2 separate regions of the Homo sapiens genome follow, and region 2 is linked to region 1. Evidence: promoter capture Hi-C in human tissues and cell types (Jung and others, 2019). All regions are on one chromosome and are shown on one strand. Each heading gives the region's core, a stretch centred on a gene start or on the middle of the fragment in contact. The rest is flanking DNA. Distances are from core to core; before and after follow the strand shown. Region 1 holds the start of LAYN (layilin). Region 2 overlaps POU2AF2 (POU class 2 homeobox associating factor 2).

The links. The method cuts DNA at HindIII sites, captures the fragments that hold promoters and counts their contacts. A contact is called where the count stands out against the background at its distance.
Region 2: a contact is called between a fragment that was not itself captured here and the fragment with the promoter of LAYN in region 1, in 1 of the 25 tissues and cell types used here (IMR-90 fibroblasts).

What each region holds. Positions count from the first base shown.
Region 1 is chr11:111,536,515-111,543,781 of GRCh38, forward strand. It overlaps LAYN (layilin), which reads left to right and starts at 4,206. Exons shown (of 7, transcript NM_178834.5): 1 at 4,206-4,414. The coding sequence starts at 4,330. HOATZ (HOATZ cilia and flagella associated protein) reads left to right here. Exons shown (of 6, transcript NM_001100388.2): 6 at 256-529. The coding sequence ends at 313. RefSeq lists an enhancer at 3,309-3,988. The HindIII fragment of the contact is 9,472 bases long and covers 2,308-7,267 here.
Region 2 is chr11:111,279,496-111,286,762 of GRCh38, forward strand. POU2AF2 (POU class 2 homeobox associating factor 2) reads left to right here. Exons shown (of 5, transcript NM_198498.3): 3 at 1,903-1,945; 4 at 4,581-4,882; 5 at 6,158-6,906. The coding sequence ends at 6,559. Among named protein-coding and RNA genes, the nearest start is that of POU2AF3, 15 kb to the right of the region's middle. The HindIII fragment of the contact is 8,270 bases long and covers 1-7,267 here.

The sequences.
Region 1 (7,267 bases), core at 2,956-5,455:
AATCTCAGGAGTCTGACTCTAGAATAAACAAAACATATTTGGGGTAGGAGGGCTCCTGTACCTCCAAACCACACTTCACAATATCATAACCACTTCTCTCACATACAAGTTTATACTTGGTTGCAAAACCCAACACATAGAATCTACAACAGTGAATTTTTATTGGGAGAATTTTCAAAAGTTGTTTTCATGCTACATCATGTTCACAATGGCGGAGTTCTGTGTATTGGAACTGACTGATATTACTACCAACAGGAAAGTGGTATCAGAGTCAGATAAAGAGGACCAAGAAGAAGTCAAAACTTTGGACTAATTTGCTTGACACATGGCAGAGGATGGCTCACTTATACCTTCACTTTGGAAACAACCTTCTCTTAGATCAGGATCATTGAGATCACTGGCAACATTATAGTAGACAAAGAAATACAAGTTAAATACGCAGACTTCCAGGAATTTTACCAGTTAGTGAGTACTTGTGTTAAAATAAAGAAATAAAGGTTAAATATGCAGGCTTCTATGAATTCTACCAGCTATTGAATATTTGTGTCTATTTACTTACTGGGTACTACTGTTTGACACCACAACATACATCTCTTTCATCTTACCACATTCTCAAACTCCTATTTATCTTGTTTTCATTTGAAGGGTATTTCCAGAATTTCTATGCTAGATCTATATTATGAATATCAGGTAAGCAAGAAACAGGGGCTTTATGTGTCTTAACTTGTAGACCACCAGTAAAAACAATCAGGAAATAGGAATGAAAGGGCAGTTTTGAAAACTTCAAGTCTACTTGCTTTAATAAGAAAACCACTTAGCAAAATTTGGTTTGTTCCATTTCTGAAACATGTCTGAAGTCAGAAGTGAGTTGCTTCTACCTCTGTGAATAACTGGCTCCACGTGCCTATGTTTTACACACATACATAAACCCAGTGCCAACCCCCCTCACTTTCATTCCCTTTGCTATGTAATGGAAAAGAAAAGATTAAGGATTTGTCCCTTCTGCGCTGTCCAAATGGCAGTCCTACTCAGGGTTAGATGCTCTTCCCCATCCCTCCTTCGAGAGATCTTAGCATAATCCAGGCCCCCTTCTGTCAGAAAGAAAGAACTGGAAAGTGTGTTTATAGTAAAGCTTTAGTAGCAATATGTTTATTATCCACCCAGGAATATTTGCATTTTAAAAGAAGGCTGAATAAAGGGAACAATGGGTAATCCAAGGAAATCAGTTACCAATGATGAAATCTCAGGAGTCTGACTCTTGGGTAAGCAACATGTATTTAGGGTAAGAGGGTTACCCAGAGGTTGCAGCTCTATTTAGGACCACCATTTCCATCACTACTGGCCTCCACTTGGAACTCTTGGACATAGCTTTCATAAGACACAGCCCCCATCCACTGTGCCAACAGAAGACTGGGTGGCCCACTGGTCAGAGCGTAATCACAAGGACACATCAGGCTGCAAGGGAGGCTGGAAATTGTCTTTAGAAAATGGGGAGGGGGCTTCTGTCTAATTAAAATTCAGGGATTCTATAGCCAAAAGAAGTGGAGAATGGATATTAGGGGACAATGACAAGGTTCTGGCACAACGCTATTTGAAGAAAAATGTTCGGAACAAAAGGAAGGTAGTCAGGCCTAGGAAAGGAAAATTTTGAAAGTTATAAATTGGCAGCCCCATCCTAGCACCAGCAAGAATAAAAGGTATCCTGTCTGGTTGATGTATCTGTCTGCCTGGCAGGTAGGTCTTCGTTGTGAAGATGGACACAGCAGGCTATCAAAGCCTAAACTATTAAATCATATAACTAATTCCTTTCATTCTGATTCCATGCTGATAAATCTTTTTTGCCCAGAGGGAGAATATGTGTTCAACAGGCCAATGCAAGCATTAGTTTACCTGACAATTCTATTTCTCAATGTGTAAATATATTAGTCTCTTAGATTGGGTTTGAGCATGTTAAACTAGGAATTGGACCCTGGACCAGGGTAATTTTACCAAGAAAAATTCTACTTTGTGGACTTTCTTGGCAACCAGCCTTCCCCTAGTGATACCTCCCTACATTGCCAAGTGTAATGGTTAGCTATTGCTGCAACAATGCTGCATAACAAAGGGGTCTAAAACAACATTTATTACTGCTCACACATCTGCAGTTTTGTGTGATCTAGTTTGGCTGACCTAGGCTTAGCCAGAGAGCTCTGCTTCAAGCTACAGCACCTAGAGCAGCTCTGTCTCTTACTGCAAGTTTGTCAATTGCCTGAGGTAGCTCTGCTCCATTTGTCATCCTCTTAGGGATACACATAGACCAGTGGGATATCTAAGGTATGTTCCTCTCAGAGAGTGGCAGAGAAGAAAAAGAAATATGAGGCCTTTCTGGTCTAAGCTCAGAACTGACTCATTCTGTTAGCCAAACAAGTCAATCACATGGTCAAACACAAAGTCAAGGTGTGGGGAAATATACTCTGCCTCTTTAGAAAGAGAAACTACAAAGTCATATGGTAAAGGATATGGGTACAGGGAGGTGTGGAGAATTGGGGCCGTTATTGTAATCTACCAGGTTTGGTTGACTGTATACCCTAACAAAATCCATCTGAACCAAGGTCCAGGGTATCAAAGCGAGAAGTCGGGACACGATTTAATTATGTAACAGCTTTTTAAAGTTGTAGCAGATGTTATAATATTAGAAATAAATCCTTTTCAATTGACATTAAGTGCCTAGATATCTGAACATTTACATATATATTTGCCTTATCAAACACTCACTAAACTCTTAAGGCAACTGTTAATGTTACCAACAGTTAAGTGAAACTTAGGCAAACGGAATTGCCAAAGGCCACACAGACATTAAATGAAGAGCAGAATCTGAAACAGACCCTCAAATGCCAACTCCAGTGCTTCTTTTCACCATAACAGTTCTCTCAAGTTGTTTTGATAACCAAGAATTTCTAAGAAGAAAGTGTGTTAGATGTGACATTGACGTATTCTAACTGGGACAGAAGGAAGGTCTATAAATGATCTTGCCATAAAGGTCAGGCCTCATCCTGCCACAACCGCTGTTAGCTGTTACGTGCCGCAGCAGAGCTCCCCCATAGTCTCAGCTGATACTGAAATTCATCCCACTCCCCTCTCACCCCCAGCCTGTATTCAGGCTGTTTGTTTAGAATTGCAGTGGCTAGAGGCCTTAGAAGCATCACTGCTTTCTTGGCTGTTTTGAAAAGCAGAAAGAGTACGTAAGAAGCAGCAAGCTGGAACCAAAATCCAGAGGTCGTGGCCCAGATGGGGCTTCTGCTATGCTTCACAGCAGCATGGTGTGGCAGAAAAGGCAGAAAGTCAGATTCACCTTCTGCTACTTAGTGCCTTAATCTTTGGACAGATGGCTCACTCTATTGCTTGACTATATTTAAAAGCATTTTGTTTACGAAACCAAAGTGAAACACACCTACTTTGGGAGTTTACAAGAGGAAGCACACATTGAGGGCTAGGTTAGGAAAGCTTTTCCTGAGATAATAGTTTCATTCTTTCCTGCGGGGCGAGGGGCCAAAGCTGAACTCCCTAACTATGACCCCCACCTCCCAACCTGTTCCCTGCAAAAAACAGAATCATTTCCTTCCAGGGATCTGGGACATCTTTTGGCTTCTGGTAGAAGCCGCTTTCCTTTCAGTCGGGAGGGCTCCAACTCAGCCAAGTTCTTTGGATGCCATCCGCGCGGTGTCCCATAACTTTCCTGGCCGGTGGGCACACTGCCTGCGTGAGTGTTTGTTCTCTGCATCGACCATTCCCTGCTCAGGCGTCGCCCTTCGTGCTGGGACTGCGGCCTGCTGAGCCCCAGGTAGGAGTCCACGCATCGCCTCTCTCTCCAGGTGCACCCGCACAGCTGGCGAACTTGGCTAAGGTCAGCGGGAGAGGAGGGGTGAGATGTGGTGCTAGTTTTAGGCACACTGTGCTCGTTATCAGATTGCCTAGGGGCCCGACTGAAGTATTCCTCCGCCCAGCGCCTCGGGCAAACGCGGGATCTCCCAGGGAAGCTCGGAGGGGGACAGGGAGCTGGTTCCCCTCTGCGACTCGCCCCTCTCTGGCTGGCCGAGTGTCTGGCGCCAACCTCGCTGGAGGAGGCTGTCGGGGGCGGGCCAGCCAGCGGGGCTGCCCTCCTCGCAGTGACGTCCCAGGGGGCGGAGGGGCGACCGACTGACTCCGCGCCCTCCCCCCCGCCTCCCGTGCGGTCCGTCGGTGGCCTAGAGATGCTGCTGCCGCGGTTGCAGTTGTCGCGCACGCCTCTGCCCGCCAGCCCGCTCCACCGCCGTAGCGCCCGAGTGTCGGGGGGCGCACCCGAGTCGGGCCATGAGGCCGGGAACCGCGCTACAGGCCGTGCTGCTGGCCGTGCTGCTGGTGGGGCTGCGGGCCGCGACGGGTCGCCTGCTGAGTGGTGAGTGCGCGCGCTGGGGCGGGGGCTGGTGCCGGGGTGGGCTCACTGCACCCCAGCTGCTGCTGACCCTCTTCTGGGTCGCCACGTATGGGACTAGAAGGCCGTCCCATGCCCCACTCCCAGACGCAGCCCTTCGGAGTCTCTTGCGTTCTGGGGGCAGTCGCACGGCGTCTGAGACCCACGCCAGTTCCCGGAGCTGCGCAGTTCCCTGCGCGTCCTGGAACGCTCGAAGCCCGTTCCCAGTCCAGAGTTATGGGGGTGGGTTGGAGAATGTAGGAGAGGTGGGGCAGTGGGCAAACCTGCCCCAGTGGGTGCCCCTTCGGCCCGCTCCTTTACACGCATCGAATCAGTCCTTGGGACCACCCCCGCGGGGCAGGCTTGCCAGCTGGCCCCCGCCTACCGCCCGCTCCGGGAGGCGGCCGCAGAGACAGCGGGGTAGGGATGCTGGATCCCCGGTGCCGTGGGAACCCTGCCTGTTACTCCTCGTCTCTTCTGCGGGGTTGGATGGCTGGGTCGAGCGCCCGGTATGAGAGCGCTTAGAGATCGGGAAAGAACTCCAGTTAGTGTGGGACGAGCCCCACCTGACTCCGGGGAATGACTCTCTGCTTCCTTCCTCCTGTTGTGTCACTGCAGCCTCGGATTTGGACCTCAGAGGAGGTAAAGTGCTCTGGCTTCTGGCTTCTTTCAGTTGTTCTGCATGTCGGGGGGAGAACATCCGTGCCCTTTTCTCAGATCCTTTTTGCGGGTGCCAACAGCTTGACCAAACGGGACAGAGGAGACTGGGAACCTCCTCTACTCTGGCATCCTGGCTTGCGAAACTAATTTAAAGAATGTAAAGTTGGTTTCAGGATGGGGGCGGGGCGGCAAAAGAGGTGGGAAGCTGAATTGAGCTGCTTGGGTTAGGGCTGCGTGGGCTCTGTCCTTGGTCGCGGGGAACAGAAGGCCCTCCCACCCTTCGCCTTCCTGCAAATGAGAAGAGAAGGACACTTCCTGAAGGCAGGAGAACCAGATAGGCCCGCGGGCCTCCTTCCAGCTCTGACGGTCTCTGGCACTCACCCGCAGACTTCGGATGTGTGGCCAGGCTGGACCATACAGGAAACTCGCTTAAGGTGTTATGTTTCCCTTGACAATCCAACATGGAAAGTGGGGGTTGTCAGGAAATTCAACTCCAGCTTATGTTATGCCGGTGGCCAGGTTGGATAAGTTCCTGGGGGCTCATTTGCCCCTCCTCTGCTGCCCAATTTGGAGCCAGCTTTGAGGAATCGCAAAAGCGTGGCTGGCCCAGCCCCCTTCCCGGGGGTATCCCTGCCTCAGCCTCTCTGAATACCTTCTTGCAAGCAGGTCTGGCTTTTGAACCCTCCTAATGTGCTGCTGGACCAGTCTAATTAGAGTTTCTCTATTATCAGCAATAGCCAAATAATGACAGGAAAAGGGAGAAGATGTGGAACTCTTATAACTTGTTGCTCATTGAGAATTCCTTTATGAAAGTGATGAGAGAAGAAATAGAAAATGAAGACTCACTGGAGCTTTCTGGATAATCTGTATGTGCTCTTTCTCATTTAGCACTAATCATATAGTTCTATCTGTCTGTGGCCCCTTGCCCTATATGCTGGCCAGTGTTGGGAATTAATGAATGCTATCTGGCTCCCTGCGCAGCTGTAAAACAAGTTGGGAAAACAAGAACATTCCAGAAGTTCTGGGAGGAGGTTCCCAAACCAAAATATTTTACCCCCGGCACTGTGGCAGCAGTTCGCACCCACAGCCCACAATTTGGCTTTCTCTTTGCAGGGGGACTACTCCCCGTGTTGATACGTGGTTTTCACTTTGAACATTTGAATCCGGAAACATATGCTGTGTGCTCCTGTGGGTTAGGAAGTAGCTTTTGTTCCTGTATTCCCAGCACCTCGCACAGTGCCAGGCACAAAGTGTACACTCAATAAATGTTGATTGAATGAAAGGAGTGATGAGGCTAGTGTCTCCATTGCAGCAAGGCTTCAGTCACACAGACGCAAGCTAGAGCAGTGTGTACTGTGAGCGATTTGTTATTGGCTCCTCAGTAAAATCCCATCTGTTTGTCTGAGATGATCTTCAGCCCTTCAGGGGACAGACTGATAAGACACATTACATAGGCTCCCAGTAAAACATGAGCCTGGGGTGCAGCGGGGAGCTAGCAATTTAGTTCACTGGTACCAGCATGATTTTGTAATTAGATCTGGGCTCTAACTCCGGTGATGCTGATGATCACTGTGTGATCTTGGCCAAATTACTTAACTTCCCTGAGCTCCAGTTTTCTCATTTGTAAAATAAGCCATAAACAGTATCTGCATCAGGGGACTATTATGAGGGTTACATGAGATAAAGTATGTAAGTAAATGTTAAGCCCTTACCATAGTTTATGGCACATAGTAGGAGTTCAGTAAACCTTAACTGTTGTCTTTAGGTCAGAGGGCTGACTGTCAGTAGCAGAAAACCCCGTGGATCTGATGCTTTTAGCTTCTGCTTACACCAGAGACTGGGCAAATTCTCAGTCCTGCTGCACAGGCAGAGGGTTCCAGAATAGAGGAGCCCATGCCTGACTTCAGGAAGCCTCTCTTACCTTAAAGAACCACCAGAGACACCCCCTTTAAGCCACATTATCCCCTGAGACTCCCTAATGAAAGTGTTATTTGTGTGCCTTTCAGTGAAACCATAAATCTTCATCTACTTCTCTTCTAAAGGACAGTCAAAATAAAACATTTGCTTTTTAAGATTCTGTAATGGAACAAACAAAACATGATGTCCCTACACAATATAGGCATCAGAGTTTAAATCACTACATCTCCATGCTGGAAGGAGTATTAATTTGCTCTGAGA
Region 2 (7,267 bases), core at 2,686-5,185, 260 kb before region 1:
GGCAGTTGTCACTGGTGATCCTCGATGTTCCTTGGCTTGAGGTTGTATCACTCAAACTGCTGCCTTTGTCTTCACATGACCTTGTCCCATCTGCATCTGTGTCTTTGTGCGTCCCTCTCCTCTTCCTATTAGGACATCAGTCACATGAGATTTAGGACCCACCCTAATTTAATATGACCTCATCTTAATTTAAGTAGTTACATCTTTAACAGCCCTATTAGCAAATACCGTCACATTCACAGGTATCAGGGATTAAGGTATCAATATAACTTTGGGTGGCTTATGCCTGAAATTCCAGCAATTTGGGAGGCCGAAACAGGTAGATCACCTGAGGTCAGGAGTTCGAGACCAGCCTGGCCAACACAGTGAAACCCATCTCTACTAAAAATGCAAAAAGTAGCCAGGTGTGGTGGTGCGTGCCTGTAATCCCAGCTACTCAGGAGACTGAGGCAGGAGAATCACTTGAATCCGGGAGGTGGAAGTTGCAGTGAGCCGAGATCGTGCCATTGCACTATAGCCTGGGTGAGAGAGTGAGACTCCATCTCAAAAAAAAAAAAAAAAAATATATATATATATATATATATATCTTTTGGAGGGGGCACATAATGCAACCCACCACATTCCCCAACCTCTCCCTGCTCTCTAGCCTGTGGGTTCTTTGAAGATTGTGTCTTCATTCCACATATTTTTCTTACGTCTATTATGAACTACACCCTGTTCTAGGCACTGAGGGCACATCACAGTCAAGGTCCCTACAGTTGGTGGAGCTTCTTCCTCCACATGGATTCAGACAGTAAACATTGAAGTGGCCCTTCAGTGCTGAAGCCAAACACTAAGTGCATGTATGCACATACACACATACAGTAGGCGCCCCTTAGCCATGGTTTCCCTTTCTGAGGTTTCAGCTACTCATGGTTAACTGCAGTCTGAACATACTAAATGCGAAATTCCAGAAATAAACAATTTCTAGATCTTAAATGGCATGCCTTTCTCAGTGGTGTGATGAAATTTCATTCAGTCCCACTCTGTGCTGCCCAGGACTTGAATCTTACCTTTGTCCAGCCAATCCACACTGTCTACACCACCTGCCCGTTAGTGTCTCAGTAGCCGACTCAGTGATTGGATCACCTGTCTCTGTATGGCAGTGCTTGTGTTCAAGTCACCCTTATTGTATTTCACAATGGCCCGAAAGCACAAGAGTAGTGACACTGGCAATTTAGATATGCCAAAGAGAAGCCGGAATGTGCTTCCTTTAAATGAAAAAGTAAACGTTCTCAACTTAATAAGGAAAGAAAAAAAATGTATGCTGAGGTCAGACATTGGTATGGTAAGAACAAATCTTTTGTCTGTGAAATTGTGAAGAAGGCGAAAGAAATTCATGCGAGTTTTGCTGTTGCACCTCGAACTGCAAAACTGTGGCCACAATGCATGATAAATTCTTAGCTAAGATGGAAAAGGCATTGAGTTTGTGGGTGGAGGACATGATGGCAATCAGGTGTGGTGCTATCCTCAGTTTTAGGAACCCACTGGGGAGTCTTGGAACATATCCCTCGTGGGTAAGGGGAGGCTACTGGATATGCGTATATATAGTCACTTAATATATATTGGATGAGGGAATGTTAACTGGAACAGTAGAAGATGAAGGATAAATTACTACATTTCATCCAGCCAGTGCTTTCTGGCATGTTTATCAAAATGTAAAAGTGTGGTTGCTCTTTGTCCCTTGTAAAACTTTGTTCTATGGTACTTGAATTCTTATTCTCAGTTGACCTGAGGGTCAACCCAACTCCCCAGATAATACTTCTGAATATCATAAAACCAAGCTTATAAGGTGTATTCCTAATTTTTATTAAATTCAAACTTACAACTAAAGAAAACACTTGAATTCTGTTTACCTTCCAGGGCAGCGTCAGTTCCTCTCAGTCTCCATTTGTGCAGATGCCAGGTGAGTACTTTAATTCAATAAGCAATTATTCCCTTTTGAATTTAAATCAAGCATCTGGGCTTCCATTCTTTCATAACGACCTTACAACACTTCCAAAACTCTGCTCCTTTAAAATAGTTTTGTCTAAAATACAAAATCAGCGAAGGACAGAACTCATGCAGTAATTTCTGAATTTAAAATTCATTTTGTCTTGAAAGCAGCCCTTTTATCCCAAGCTTTTGGGGCAAAGGCAATATAAATTATGCCCTTGATACAGTTTTAAATTGTCTAAAGTTCTGACACCATGATCTGATAGATGAGGCATCTGCTTTCAAACAGAAAGGGGAAAGCCGTCTGCGAGCAGAGGGAGTCAGGCATTTGGTTCAGTATTTTGAATTCATTTCAATGCCTATGTCTCATTAAATACTCCTGTGGGGATGTAAAAGGGGAATTCCTAATAATACTGTTGGACATTCTTGTATAAACACACACCACACAGGCAAAGACAATCTCATTTAGTTCAACTCAGACGCGGCACATTCCCTAATAGTTTTATCACCTTCAGAGCTGGATAAGGGAAAGGAATAAGAGCAATCGAGGATCCCGAATATTTAAATGTCTGTATGTTGTTTCCCAATCATATATAGTGCCATTGAAATTTGGTGGCATCTCCTGCCTTCTACAGAAAAAAAAAAGAAAAATTTCCATAGCTTCTCTTTATCTAGAAATTATCCTTTCTCTTTGTACAGAGAAAATCCATGCTAAGAGAGCAGAGGCTTTTTTCTTCGTGGTTGTTTTGATTTGGAAATTGGGAGTATAGATGAGAGCCTGGAAACCTTGTTTTCATATTCTCAACCTTAACCGCTCTCATAAATATAATTTCATTGTATGAAACAGAACCTTATTTATTTATATTAAGGTTCAGCTGCACAGATTTTTTCCCAAGGAAGTATGCTTATAATGAAAACCCTAACTTCAGCTTTCAAATGCATGAGCAGGTTAGAAGTTATAGAATGTAAGATGAAAGTGAAGTGAGTGGAGTCGTGCCACAGGTTTTGATGGGGAATTTTGATTTCTTCTTCTGGATGAATAAATTCACATGCCATTCTTGAACACAATGTTATACTACTAGGTTTAAAGAAAATGTATAAGGCATGAGATCTGCCCCCTTGGGCTCGCAGGTTGACTGGAAAGATCATTGTGACTCAGGTGAAAGAGGAATGAGCATAATATAAAGTGCCACATCCTGTGGAACGGGCTGGAATTCTGTGTCTATAGAATCAGAAGCTCAGAAGTGGTCTGCTGCTGTGGTTGGGGTAAGGTAAGGAAGACAGGCACTTATATCTTCTCCCCAGTTCAGCCTTTTTGTGACCTATGACCTAAGGGTGTTGGTGTTAGCATTAGATCACACCCAAGGCCAGCTGGAACAATTAAACCATCAGTTTTATAGACCTCAAGTCTATGCCCTCAAACATGTTCTGAATGATCAGTGTTTTCTGCTACAACTGAGCTACGGGGTCAGAAAGTGTTGAGCAAACACACCTTTTTCCTTGGAAACCATTTCACTGCTGGGCTTACCTTAAATGAAGCTCTTATCAGTTTCTGTCCCTCCCTCTCTCCACCAAGGAAAACTTTTTACTTTTTTTTTTTTTTTTTTTGAGACGGACTCTTGCTCTGGGCGAGATCTCAGCTCACTGCAACCTCCACCTCCCGGGTTCAAGTAATTCTCCTGCCTCAGCCTCCTGAGTAACTGGGACTACAGCAGCTGTGATTACAGGCATGGTGGCCCAGCTGATTTTTGTATTGTTTTTAGTAGAGATGGGTTTTCACCATGTTGGCCAGGATGGTCTCAATCTCTTGACCTCGTGATCCGCCAGCCTGGGCCTCCCAAAGTGCTGGGATTACAGGTGTGAGCCACCGAGCCTGCACCACCAAGGGAAACTTTATGTAGCCGGCACTGTCTTCCTAAACGTGCTGGGCCCTGGTGAGTTGAGTGAAGGAGTCCATGAGGCCACAAGAGGGCAGCAAATAACATAAAACTCATCAAAACCCTAAAACTACAGGCCTCTAAAATTGGCTTCTGTGTGGCCATCTAATCCTAAAGAAAGTCATTTATTGATGTCTGCCAGGCGTGCGACCCAGTGTAAGGTCAATGTGTGAAGAATTAGAAGGCAGAGTACAGCCTGCCTCTTTGAGGTGGGGTTATATGTGTTACCTTATCCAGACATAGCGATCTCAGATAACAGGCCAGGAGCACCTCTTGTTAACAGTTCTATGTATATGGAGAGGTAGCTCCGATGTTGTGAAAAAGATGCTTCCTTGGTTAAAATATGAATGCCAAGAGATTATTTCATTTATGTCTTCCTAGCACAGCGCCGGTCACCGGGAAGGTACTCAGTAAATGTGAATGAATGAACAGACACGGTACTGTCTAAAATGAACTCACCCCTAAAGGCGACAATGTTTTCAAACGTTAGTTATTTGGGCTAATGCAGGAATATTTCACGCTTTTCAAGACATTTCTCTATTTCCATGTTAGCGTTGGAGTCAGGCACGCGTTAGTAACATCGTTTCCCAGGCAGAGACTCAGCTGCAACCGAGGCCTTGACCGCCCTGGGAGGAATTTTCTGCCCATGTGTTTTTCATTTGGCAACAGGTTCGCCGGTCACGTCAGGTTACTACGGTGTCAGAAGATCTTTCTTATCTGACTCAGACTTCCACAACAGTAAACAGTTTTCAAATGACGTCTACACCTCCAGCGTGGGGAAGCCGTTTCCCTGTGAGTCCTCCGCAGGGCAGAGCCATGCGGCTCTCCTGGAGCCCTACTTCCCCCAGGAGCCCTACGGAGACTACCGGCCTCCGGCGCTGACGCCCAACGCGGGCTCTCTGTTCAGCGCCTCGCCCCTACCGCCGCTCCTGCCACCGCCCTTCCCCGGAGACCCAGCTCACTTCCTATTTGTGAGTATGCAGAGACCTCGTGTGAGGGAGTAAAAGAGGGGCGAGGCTCGCCCTCTGGCCAGCCGCTGTGCTTGGCATCCGGGTTGAAGCCAGGTCTGGCTCACCCTGTAGACTCCAGAGGCTGCTTTGCAGCTGCCTAGAGATGCCAGGACACCCTCCGAGGGAGCCTTGTTCAAGGATCCCTGTTAGCCATGACAGCCAGGAGCGTCTACGCAGGGCTTGGAACCGGGAGGAATGTGCAGCAGGATTTATATCCATTTTGTTAATGCTCTACTGATATTGCCTGATGTTCCCCCACCCTGTTAGTGCCAGTCGTCATCATTCCTGCAGCCCCTAAGGAAGGAACACTGAAGCTGCATCTCAGACATGCTAGGCAGTAATGAGATGGATCATAATCTCCCAAGGAGGGTACATAGGGCTCCTCTTTCTTTCCAAGTCCCCTGCCTCCCCTTCCCCACATTTTTAGCCTAAAAATCCTTGTTCTCTCTCAATCCTTCCAAACAGGTGAGTTCATAAAGATCTGAAGATTGCTAATGCTCATAGAGAATAGTAAAGGTTTCTACCACAAAGTAATGAAGCTCTAAAGACAGGAGTTTAGACAAAAGGGAGAGGATGAGAATTCACATTATTAAGTATACTCTATGCCAGGAAATGTGATGTGTTCATTCAATACTTGCAACAACTCAGGATATATTTATGAAAGTCCCATTTTACAGATGAGCAATGTCGGGCTCAGAGTCAGGAGGAGCCACGAATGAATCCAAATCTTTCTAGCTCCAAACTTACGGGATTCCTACCTCTTTCCTCCTGCTTTAATGAGGACAGAGTGGGCTTCTCAGTCCCCTCAAAAATTCACCATGGAGTTGAAGGCCTACTCCGAGGAGTGGGCCAAGCGCTGACCTTCCCCACTGTGTAAATGGCATTCTAGGACCCAGACTAATGGGAGACTCAAAAAGAATCCAAGACAGAGTGCATTGCACACAGTAAAATGTTGCATACATGTGCATTTTATTAGTCTCACATTTCACTCATTTAATGTTGTCTTCTGGGAAAAGGAATCTCAATATCTATAGCAAATCTAATTCTAGAGTAGGAAGGGAGGAAAACTTTCACTGCTGGTGTCAAAAGCCGGAGAGAAGAGCAGCCTGAGAGCCAGGCTTCAGGCAGCAGAGAGAGGGGACGAAGGCTGCCCTGAAGCCACAGTCTGGCAGCACACAATGTATCATCAGAGTGTCACCTAGTGAATAACCTCCGTGGCCTTTCCATTCTCCTCAGAGGGACTCATGGGAGCAGACGTTGCCTGACGGTCTCAGCCAGCCTGACCCTGTGTCTGCCGATGCCCTGCTGACCTTGCCACCCAGCACGAGTTGCCTCTCCCAGCTTGAGTCCGGGAGCATCGCCCAGCACAGGGGCTCAAGCTGGGGGTCATCCCTGGCTGGGGCTCAGTCATACTCGCTGCATGCTCTGGAAGATCTGCACCACACTCCGGGGTACCCTACCCCGCCTCCTTACCCCTTCACCCCTTTCATGACGGTGTCAAATGACCTACCGCCCAAGGTGGGGCCACTCTCCCCAGATGAGGAAGCAGACACCGGTTCCCTCCATGACCCTTCCCCTTGGGTGAAAGAAGATGGGAGTATTGCCTGGGGGTCATATGAATGCCGCAGAGCTTATTGAGGGGAGGGCCAAATGACTTCTGGGTTTTTCTTTAACTTGAGGTGTATTCCAAAGATTGTTTTAGGTGTGTCAGCCCATTCAGGACTGGATTTTCAGAATAAGCCTCAATGCTGCTCTTTGTTAGTGGACGAGGGCATTTATTTGTAATCCTCTCCACTGTAACCCCACTGAAATAAAACAGAATGTTAATTAAATGTGTCAGAGACCGTATTCTAGTAAGATAACCTTACAATGTGGTCTTTTTGGAACTGTTGTAACCCATTACGTTCTGAATCTTCTGTTATCTTTGAAGTATCATTTTTGGCACTGATTTTTCTTAAATTACATTAAAAAGTTTATGCAGATCATAAAAGATACTGATTTTCCTGTCAGATGTTTCTTAGTTTTAAACTATGTGTATTCTGCAGTAAAAGACACTGGATAGGATATAATATAGATATGACCACATAAAACTCATTTTATAGCATGTGACTTGAAAGAGTGAAGTGTTTCATATACATATATTTATGGCTTATTATAGTGACTTGTAAAACCCCAGTTAAAAAAAAGGTACAATCTATAAATATGTTATTGTCCATAAAATAGGATGAGATCAGGAAACTATGGCTTTGTACATAACAAAGTTATTTTTTGACTCTATCCTAAAGCCCAGAATGTCCCCAAATTAGTTCAATCCAAAAAAGTCCAAAAATTTTCTTTGATCAGTGA